Linked DNA regions of Homo sapiens: region 2 is linked to region 1. The links are contacts of gene promoters, found by promoter capture Hi-C in blood cells and fetal thymus (Javierre and others, 2016). All regions are on one chromosome and are shown on one strand. The core of a region is centred on a gene start or on the middle of the fragment in contact, and the rest is flanking DNA. Distances in the headings are between cores, read along the strand shown. Region 1 holds the start of SLC26A1 (solute carrier family 26 member 1). Region 2 holds the start of PCGF3 (polycomb group ring finger 3).

What was found. The method cuts DNA at HindIII sites, captures the fragments that hold promoters and counts their contacts. A CHiCAGO score of 5 or more calls a contact.
Region 2: the fragment with the promoter of PCGF3 here is called in contact with the fragment with the promoter of SLC26A1 in region 1 in 1 of 17 cell types (naive CD8 T cells); the score reaches 5.7 in naive CD8 T cells.

What each region holds. Positions count from the first base shown.
Region 1 is chr4:992,025-996,552 of GRCh38, reverse strand. SLC26A1 (solute carrier family 26 member 1) reads left to right here and starts at 3,149. Exons shown (of 3, transcript NM_022042.4): 1 at 3,149-3,252. All of the region lies in intron 2 of IDUA (alpha-L-iduronidase), which reads right to left. RefSeq lists enhancers at 2,189-3,000, 3,001-3,812. The HindIII fragment of the contact is 37,873 bases long and covers 1-4,152 here.
Region 2 is chr4:704,340-709,146 of GRCh38, reverse strand. It overlaps PCGF3 (polycomb group ring finger 3), which reads right to left and starts at 3,315. Exons shown (of 11, transcript NM_006315.7): 1 at 3,177-3,315. RefSeq lists enhancers at 1,557-2,541, 2,542-3,527, 4,568-4,807 and a silencer at 2,893-3,592. The HindIII fragment of the contact is 21,581 bases long and covers 1-4,807 here.

The sequences.
Region 1 (4,528 bases), core at 1,900-4,399:
TAAAACCTCACCACAGGTCCCCATAAGCCAGCCTCTGGAAACCTCCACCACCTTTCCTGAGGGGGGAAGGGCCACCTCCCACTCCAGGTTTTTCTGTGGCCCCAGGTGGCACTGCCCACCCCACCCTGCATGCAGGCGTCTGCACCAGGTGCCCCACCCCTGCTGTAGCACCCAGGTCCTCCCTGCCTCCTTTAGGGAGACCTTGAGGGAACAACCCCAGCCCCCTGGGTCTCCCCAGTTCTCCAACAACCCTGCTGGTGGCTGCACCCAGAGGGGCCCTTATCTGTCCCAGGGAGGGACCTGAGGCCCTGCGTGACTGCCTTACCCCACCCACTGGCCAACCGCTTCTTACAGCACAGCTCCCAACTGCTGAGCAAACAGCTGCTTCCCAGGGACCACTGGGGCCCAGGTTGGGCTGGGGTGGAAGCAAGGGCTCAGACTCTGGAGGACAGGGCAGGGGCTTCGAGGAGAAATCAGACTTGGAGAGGGCATCCCAGGTGGAGGCTATGGGGGTATGAGACCCTGGAGCCTGTTCAGCTCTGCCCGAATCTCACACTCAGGGGTACGAGACCCCAGAGCGTTCAGCCCTGCCCGCATCTCACACTCTGGGGTACGAGACCCTGGAGCATTCAGCCCTGTCCACATCTCACACTTAGGATGTCTCCTACTCTCTGGCCATCCCAACTACATTCCACTCCCATTTCACCTCCAAATGGGGGCACTGCAGCCCAGTCTTCCCTGGGCTCACCCAGGGCTGTGGGGAACTAGCAGCGCTTGGCAGACGGCTTCCACAAGGAGGTACCTTTGGTGGGGTGAGTGTCCAGGGTCTCCTCCCTCCGGGGCTGTGCCCCATCAATGTCAGTGTCCTCGTCTTGGGGAAATGGAGCCCCGGCACATCAGCTGGTTCTGCGAGACCCTCGGCTTCAATCCCACATGGACAGGAGAAGTAGAGCCTGTGGCTTCTGTTCCCCGGACAGAGTCAGGCTGCCCAAGGTGCCAGGGCCGGGTTGGCCTTCCAGCCCCACCCGAGGGACCCACCGCAGCCTCCTGGCCTCCCTTGGGATGGGAGAGCACTGAGGGCTGCAGCCCCTCGTTACACTCACCCTCCGGCCACAGGTGCCCCGTGCAGGCTCCCACCCAGTACTCACTGTCAAAGTCGGGGGGACCTGAGGCTCCCAAGGAATTTTTTTTTTTTTTTTGAGACAGAACTGGCCGGGCACGGTGGCTCACGCCTGTAATCCCAGCACTTTGGGAGGCCGAGGCGGGTGGATCACAAGGTCAGGAGTTCAAGACTAGCCTGACCAACATAGTGAAACCCTGTCTCTACTAAAAATACAAAAATTAGCCGGGCGTGGTGGCACACGCCTGTAGTCCCAACTACTCAGGCGGCTGAGGCAGGAGAATCGCTTGAACCCGGGAGGCAGAGGCTGCAGTGAGCCGAGATTGTGCCACTGCACTCCAGCCTGGGCAACAGAGCGAGACTCCATCTCAAAAAAAAAAAAAAAAGACTTGTAGGCTGGAGTGAAGCGCTACAAACATACCTCACTGCAGCCTGGACCTCCAGGGCTCAAGCAATCCTCCTACCTTAGCTTCCCAAAGTGCTGGGCCAATGACAGCGTTTGTTTTTGAGACGGGCTCTTGCTCTGTGGCCTAGGATAGGGTGCAGTGGCCTAATCATACCTCATGGCAGCCTCAAACTCCTGGGCTCAAGCCATGCTCCCACCTGAGCCGCTTGAGTAGCTGGGATACAGGCACACACCACCACACCCAGCTAATTTTTTACTTTTAATTTTTTAAAGGTTGGGGGGCAGGGGGCGGCCGGGTGCAGTGGCTCAAGCCTGTAATCCCAGCACTTTGGGAGGCCGAGGTGGGTGGATCACGAGGTCAGGAGATCAAGACCATCCTGGCTAACATGGTGAAACCCCGTCTCTACTAAAAATACAAAAAATTAGCCGGGCGTGGTGGCGGGTGCCTGTAGTCCCAGCTACTCGGGAGGCTGAGGCAGGAGAATCACTTGAACCCGGGAGACAGAGCTTGCAGTGAGCCGAGATCATGCCACTGTACTCCAGCCTGGGCAACAGAGCGAAACTCCGTCTCAAAAAAAAAAAAATTAGCCGGGCGCGGTGGCGGGCGCCTGTAGTCCCAGCTACTCAGGAGGCTGAGGCAGGAGAATGGCGTGAACCCAGGAGGCAGAGCTTCCAGTGAGCCGAGATCACACCACTGCATTCCGGCCTGGGTGACAGAGCAAGACTCCGCCTCAAAAAAAAAAAAAGAAAAGGTGGGGGGCGTCTCACTATGTTGACCAGGCTGGTCTTGAACTGCTGGCCTTAAGCGATCCTCCTGTCTAGGCCTCCCAAAGTGTTGGAATTACAGGAGTGAACCATCGTGCCTGGCTAATAATTCCTTTTAAAAAGCAGCTTACCCTTATTTTCACGTGTGGGCCTAATTTAGTTCACTTAAAAAAATCATTTATCTTCACCCCAGCCCTATGAGGCAGGCACTGCCGGTCCTGGTCTGTGGTAGAGGGGAGGGCAGAGGAGCCGTGAGGGTGACCAGGCGCTGTGGGTCGGTGCTGGGTCCAGTCAGACCAGGACTCCTGGCCAGTCACGGCACCTTGACCCCGGCAGTCCTCGCCCTGGGCGGTGAGCACCACACACAGGGCTTACGCGAGCACACACGCATATGCACGCACCGGCAGCCTTGGGCTGAGCCGGCTGTCAGCCTCTGCCCTGCTCCAGCTTGGACCAGGCTGGCTCCTTGCAGGACCAGGAGGGTGTCCGGCGACTGGACACGGAGACCAAGCCTCCCTCAGCCCCGCCTGGGTTTGAAGGCTGCTGCACTCGACCCCAGACCCCAGAGCTGAAGGTTTACCTGTGCTCAGCCCCTGAGCCCCCGCCTCCCGCTGGTCCCTAAGCCCCCCCGGCAGGGCCGCAGAGCCACAGCTGCAGCGGCTCCTGGGAGGCTGGGAGCTCCTCAGAGGCCCACACAGCTCTAACTCCTACAAGCCCCTGATTACAGTTCAACTCCCGGATCAGCCGATCAGGTAACATGGCTGGAGAAACCCATGACTCAGCAATCTGTAGGTAAATAATTGAACTACAGAGTCCAGGGCACAGACCACTGCCTGCAGGTTGGCGCCACCACCCCCACTCTCCCCGCTGCTCGCGGGAGCCAGAGGGCCCTGCGGTCCTCGGTGGTCTTGCCAGCCCCTCGTCATCCCAGGGCCCTCCGCGCCTGTGAGGACTCCCTCAGGTAAGAACCATCCTGGGCCCAGATCTCAGCTGCAGCAGAGGGGGGCGTGGGAGCCGAGGCCAGAAATGCCCTGGACTCGTGGTTTCTTAGGGGCACCCTCAGGCTCAAGGCAGGTGGCCCTACTGTCCCCATTCCACACACCTGGACCCCAGGGGCTTGGGGTGGGCTTCAGGGCATCCAGGGACCCAGTGTGGTGGGGTCTTCCAGGGAAGGGGACACAACTCTTGCAATGTTGCCTGAGGGCCAGGACCCCCGCTCTGTGCCCCAGGGGTGCTGTGCCCAGCCTGCATGTGTCAACCTACCAGGCTGGGCTCACTGCCCCAACACACCCGCCAGGAGACTGGAGCTCGCACACCCTGGGCCAGCGTGCAAACAGCAGGCTCAGCCCAGGCTCCAGGGTGTCCTGGGCACCTGGTGTCCTGGGAGCAAAGTCTTTGCCTAACGTCGCTGAGAAGAATGTTTAAAGTGAAAGTACATTGGAGTCTGCAAACAGGACAGACCCGAGGCCTCACGTGGGACCAGTCAGGCCTCTAAGCACCGCCTCCCTAACGCCACGGTGTTTTCCGAGATCAAGGGAAAGGTCAGGTGCCCTTCCGGCTCTGCCGGCCCAGGGTGACTGTGTGCAGCGGGCTGGGCCCTCTCGGTGCTGCCTCGGGACAGTGTGTCATGGCCGTTCCACAGTGAGCTGGTGCAGCCTGGGAAAAAGGGCGCCTCACGTCCCAGAACTGTCTGGGCAGGGGAGACAGACGCCAGTCACCCTCCTCCCCTCCCAGCTGGCCCTGATGGGGCCCCCGTCCAGGCATATTCTCAGAATTCTGTCCCAAGTCCAGGCGGATGGGCTAGGCTAGTGTCTGAGTGCTGCTCCCCCAGCAGACTTGGGGTCCCAGTACCCACAAAGCTTGGCAGGGACATAGGAGGCCTCTTCCTGAGACTTCCGCCAGCCCCAGGACCCACAGGGCAGGTGACAGAGGGGTGGGTGGAGGTGTCTCCAGGAGAGCAGGCGATGGTTTGGATGGGGGAGGGAGGGCTCTGGTGTGGGCATGGGGTGGACAGCAGGACCGTTTGCCAACCTGGGGAGCCAGGGAGGTGGACACGGAGCAGCTGGACTCAGGCTTGCCTGCACCTGTGTCCAGTGACTGTGACATTCTGACGGTAGGCACATGTGCGTGGTGGCAGCCCAGCCTGTTCCTGCCCCGTTGGGGAGGTGAGCTTCAGGAGGCTACAGGGTGGTTTTCAGCCAGGAACCGCAGAGCCAATAGGCCGGAGCTGAGCCTGG
Region 2 (4,807 bases), core at 2,066-4,565, 290 kb after region 1:
CAGGGTTCCTGGGATGACCACCCTCTGGAAACACCCCTGACAAGATGTCACTAGACAACCCTTCCCTAGTCAAAGGACAGCATAGACCGCTCGCTTCTGAATACCTCATGCACCCCACTTTTTCATTACCACTTCCAAATTAAAGGAAAACACCCACAAGTTTTTGATAAAAGGCTGATTCAAAGGTTTCAGAGAAATAAACCAACCCCCGTCCCCAGCCCGATCACCACCAGGATCCTTTAATTCCTTCCCTTACTAGAGAGGGAGTGGGAAATAGCCTTGCCTGCTCCAACTTTCCTGACTTGGACCAACTGTCCCCAAAATATGCCCAGGAGTCCACATCCCAGCTCAGACCCCACCCCTCCTCCAAGTCTCCCGGACACTGGAAACGCCTCTACACTGAGGAAGTGGGGCACTCACATGACCTTGAAGATGGGGAGAGGGGCAGGAGGGGTTGAAGGTGCTGGACACGGACCACAGCCAAGGCAAGGACAGGACAGCAGCCCCGGACGAGGGGCTGAGTGGGAGGGTGCAGTGCCAGCCTGAGGTGTGGAGCCTGTGGGCTGGGAGCTCCTGGAACCCTGAGGCCCCTGCCTCATACCTACCCCAGGTATCACCTAGGCGGTTCATGTGCAGGGGCTGTGGGGCTGGCCCAGGGTCTCATGGAAAGGGCCTCGGGTACCAGGATGCCAGATGCCTGGCCTTCACAGCAGGTGCATCCAGCTGAGTGGACTGGGCAGATTCAGGACACTGCTGGATTCCCCCCCGAGGGTCCCAGTACTCCTTACAGTCCAGTCTTGGGGCCTACATGCTCCTCAGTGACTTGTTCAGGAGTCCCAGCCCTCTGAGGACCTGTCTGGAAGTTCCAGCTCTCATCAGGTCCTCTTTGAGAGCCTAGCCTTCTTCCCAGTCCACACCAGTGTCCCGACCCTAAGTGACCCCGTTTGAGGTCCTGGTCATCTAGAAGCCTGTCCATGTCATGAGCCCTTCTCACTGTCCAGTCTCAGGGTGCCGGGCCCTGGGAGAAAACAGGGCTGTCTCAGGGTCCCGGCCCCCAGGTGAAAACAGGGCTGTCCCAGGGTCCCGGCCCCCAGGTGAAAACAGGGCTGTCCCAGGGTCCCGGCCCCCAGGGGAAAACAGGGCTGTCCCAGGGTCCCGACCCCCAGGGGAAAACAGGGCTGTCCCAGGGTCCCGGCCCCCAGGGGAAAACAGGGCTGTCCCAGGGTCCCGACCCCCAGGGGAAAACAGGGCTGTCTCAGGGTCCCGACCCCCAGGTGAAAACAGGGCTGTCCCAGGGTCCCGACCCCCAGGGGAAAACAGGGCTGTCCCAGGGTCCCGGCCCCCAGGGGAAAACAGAGCTGTCCCAGGGTCCCGGCCCCCAGGTGAAAACAGAGCTGTCTCAGGGTCCCGGCCCCCAGGTGAAAACAGAGCTGTCTCAGGGTCCCGGCCCCCAGGGGAAAACAGAGCTGTCCCAGGGTCCCGACCCCCAGGGGAAAACAGGGCTGTCCCAGGGTCCCGACCCCCAGGGGAAAACAGAGCTGTCCCAGAGTCCCGACCCCCAGGGGAAAACAGAGCTGTCCCAGGGTCCCGACCCCCAGGGGAAAACAGGGCTGTCCCAGGGTCCCGGCCCCCGGGTGAAAACAGGCTGTCCCAGGGTCCCGGCCCCCAGGGGAAAACAGGGCTGTCTCAGGGTCCCGGGGGAGACGGGGCAGTCTCAGGGTCCCAGCAGTGCTCACAGGACTCACAAGACTGCTCCAGGGTCAGGTCCTCCTGAATTATGGTCATGGGGTCCTGGCCCTCGTCTGTGACCCACTTTAAGGCAGGACCTTCCTGGGGGATCTATTCTGGGGTCCTGGCATTCTTTGGATTCTGCCTGGTCCCTACGTCTGGCCCTCCTCCGTGATTCTTCCCAGGGTCCTAGCCCCCCCGGGCCCTGCCAGGTGGCCAGGTCCGACCCTCCTTGGTGACCCATCTTGGGGTCCCAGCCCTTCTCGGTGACCTGTCCCAGGGTCAGACCCTCCTGGATGATGTGTCATTGTGTCCTAGCACTCTGGGGGTCCTGTGCAATCCCAGAGCCCAACTCTCTTCAGGTCCTGCCTGGTCTGAAGACCCAGCCCTCCCGGGGTCCTGCCTGGGCTGGGGTCGCGACCTTCCCAGGGTCCTGCCTGGGCTGGGGTCCCTACCCTCCCGCGGTCCTGCCTGGGCTGGGGTCTTTGCCCTCACCTGGGTCCTGCCTGGTCTGGGGTCTTCGCCCTCCCTGGGTCCTGCCTGGGCTGGGGTCGCGACCTTCCCAGGGTCCTGCCTGGTCTGGGGTCCCTGCCCTCCCGCGGTCCTGCCTGGGCTGGGGTCTTCGCCCTCACCTGGGTCCTGCCTGGTCTGGGGTCTTCGCCCTCCCTGGGTCCTGCCTGGGCTGGGGTCGCGACCTTCCCAGGGTCCTGCCTGGTCTGGGGTCCCTGCCCTCCCGCGGTCCTGCCTGGGCTGGGGTCTTCGCCCTCCCTGGGTCCTGCCTGGTCTGGGGTCTTGGCCCTCCCGGGGTCCTGCCTGGTCTGGGGTCCCTGCCCTCCCGCGGTCCTGCCTGGGCTGGGGTCTTCGCCCTCCCTGGGTCCTGCCTGGTCTGGGGTCTTGGCCCTCCCGGGGTCCTGCCTGGTCTGGGGTCTTGGCCCTCCCTGTTCTGGGGTCTTTGCCCTCCCTGGGTCCTGCCTGGGCTGGGGTCTTCGACCTCCCGGAGTCCTGCCTGGGCTGGGGTCTTGCCCTCCCTGCGTCCTGCCTGGACTGGGGTCTTGCCCTCCCTGCGTCCTGCCTGGGCTGCTGTCCCAGCCCTCCCTGGGTCCTGCCTGGGCTGGGGTCTTCGACCTCCCGGAGTCCTGCCTGGGCTGGGGTCTTGCCCTCCCTGCGTCCTGCCTAGGCTGGAGTCCCAGCCCTCCCGGGGTCCTGCCTGGGCTGGGCTCTTGGCCCTCCCGGAGTCCTGCCTGGGCTGGGGTCTTCGACCTCCCGGAGTCCTGACTGGGCTGGGGTGCCGGCCCTCCCGGGCCTGCCAAGGGCTTCCCGGGCCAGGCCGACGGGGACGACGGAGCGCGGGCCCGGGGTTCGGAGCCTTCCGGGCCGGACACGGGCCGAGGCCGCAGCCTGAGGAGCGGGCGCCGAGGGCCCAGGCCAGGCGGGGCGGACTCACTGACCTGCGGTCTCGGGGCTGCGGGCGAGCAAGGCGCACGCGGGGTCCGCGCCGGAGGGGGGAGGGGGCGCCGCTCCCTCTGGGTCCCCCCCAAGAGGAGGAGAAAAAAGCCCGTCCGGAGTTTAAAACAAAGAGGCGGAAATGCCCGAGCCGAGCCGAGCGCCGCGTCGGGGGCGCCGCGCTCGGAGCATGCGCGGTGTGCGTCTGGGCTCCCACCCCGCGGCAAGGGGCGTGGGCGGGGCCAGGCGGTAAGGGGTGGGGATAGGGGCGGGGAGGGGCGTGTTCAGAGGGCGCAGGCGCGTCGGGCCTGGACTCGGCGGAGGGAGCCGCGGGGCGCGAGGGCCAGGGGCGAGGCATAGGGCGGGGCCATGAGGGGCGTGGTCAGGAGAGCGACAGGGCCGCGCTGTGCTGAGGGACCCGACGGGTCCTGGACGATCGTGAGCTGGGGCGCTGGAGCAGCAGAGTCCTCAGGCCCGGGTCCCTCCGGGGGTGCCGTCCAGTACGGGTGCTGCTGTCCTTTGTGGGAGCCGGGACTGAGCGCCCTCCCGGCAGGGTTAAGGGTCGGTGTTAGGGTCAGGGGTCGGGTTAGGGGTCAGAGTCAGGGTTAGGGTTGGGTTTAGGTTTAGGGTCAGGGTTAGGGGTTAGAGTCAGGGTTAGGACTGGGTTTAGGGCTAGGGTCAGCATTAGGGGTTAGGGTTAGGGTTGGGTTTATGGTTAGGGTCAGGATTAGGGGTGGGGTCAGGGTCAGGGGTTAGGGTCTGGTCTAGGGTTAGGGTTGGGTTTAGGGTTAGGGTCAGGGTTAGGGTTAGGGTTGGGTTTTAGGGTTAGGGTCAGGGTTAGGGTTAGAGTCAGGGTTAGGACTGGATTTAGGGTTAGGGTCAGCATTAGGGGTTAGGGTTAGGGTTGGTTTTACGGTTAGGGTCAGGATTAGGGGTAGGGTCAGAGTTAGGGGTTAGGTTTAGGGTTAGGGTTGGGTTTAGGGTTAGGGTCAGGATTAGGGGTGGGGTCAGGGTCAGGGGTTCGGGTCTGGTCATGTTTAGGCTTGTATTTAGGTTATGTTCAGCATCAGGACGGACAGGGCACCCACGTGCGGACTCTCCGACCTGGGTGCCCTCCGCCAGGGTGGAGCAGTACGGGCGGCATTTGCGCCTTCGTGGGACTGGCACTGTCCTGAGAGGGCGGGATCCGAGGACCGAGGGCGCGTGCGGGGGTGAGGCGGACGTGCAGGCACGCGGGGTCCTAGGGTCTCCCGGTTTGCGGGTTCTGGGCTGGCGGCCCAGGACGGGAGGGCAGGTTGGGTCTTGGGTGGGAAGCGAGACCACTGTGGTTCCGGGCGGCGGGGCACCGCGCAGTGTGGAGGCTTGGTGGCGAGAGGGGAGGCCCCGTAGGCCCAGGGGCACTCGCTGCGAGGCTGTGCGGTGCAGGCATGGAGCAGGAGTCGGGAGTCATTAGCTCGTCCCGTCTGGAGAGGTGGTGGCTGAGGGAGTGACCCTGCGACTGTCCCCGTGAAGTCTAGAGTTGGACCCCGGGAGCAGCCACCAGGCAGGGGGCCCCGGGCCCAGGTATGGTGCAGCACGTGGGGAAGCGGCTTGAGTCCGCTGCTGAGAGGGGCCTGAGAAGGGCTGGGGGCCTGCT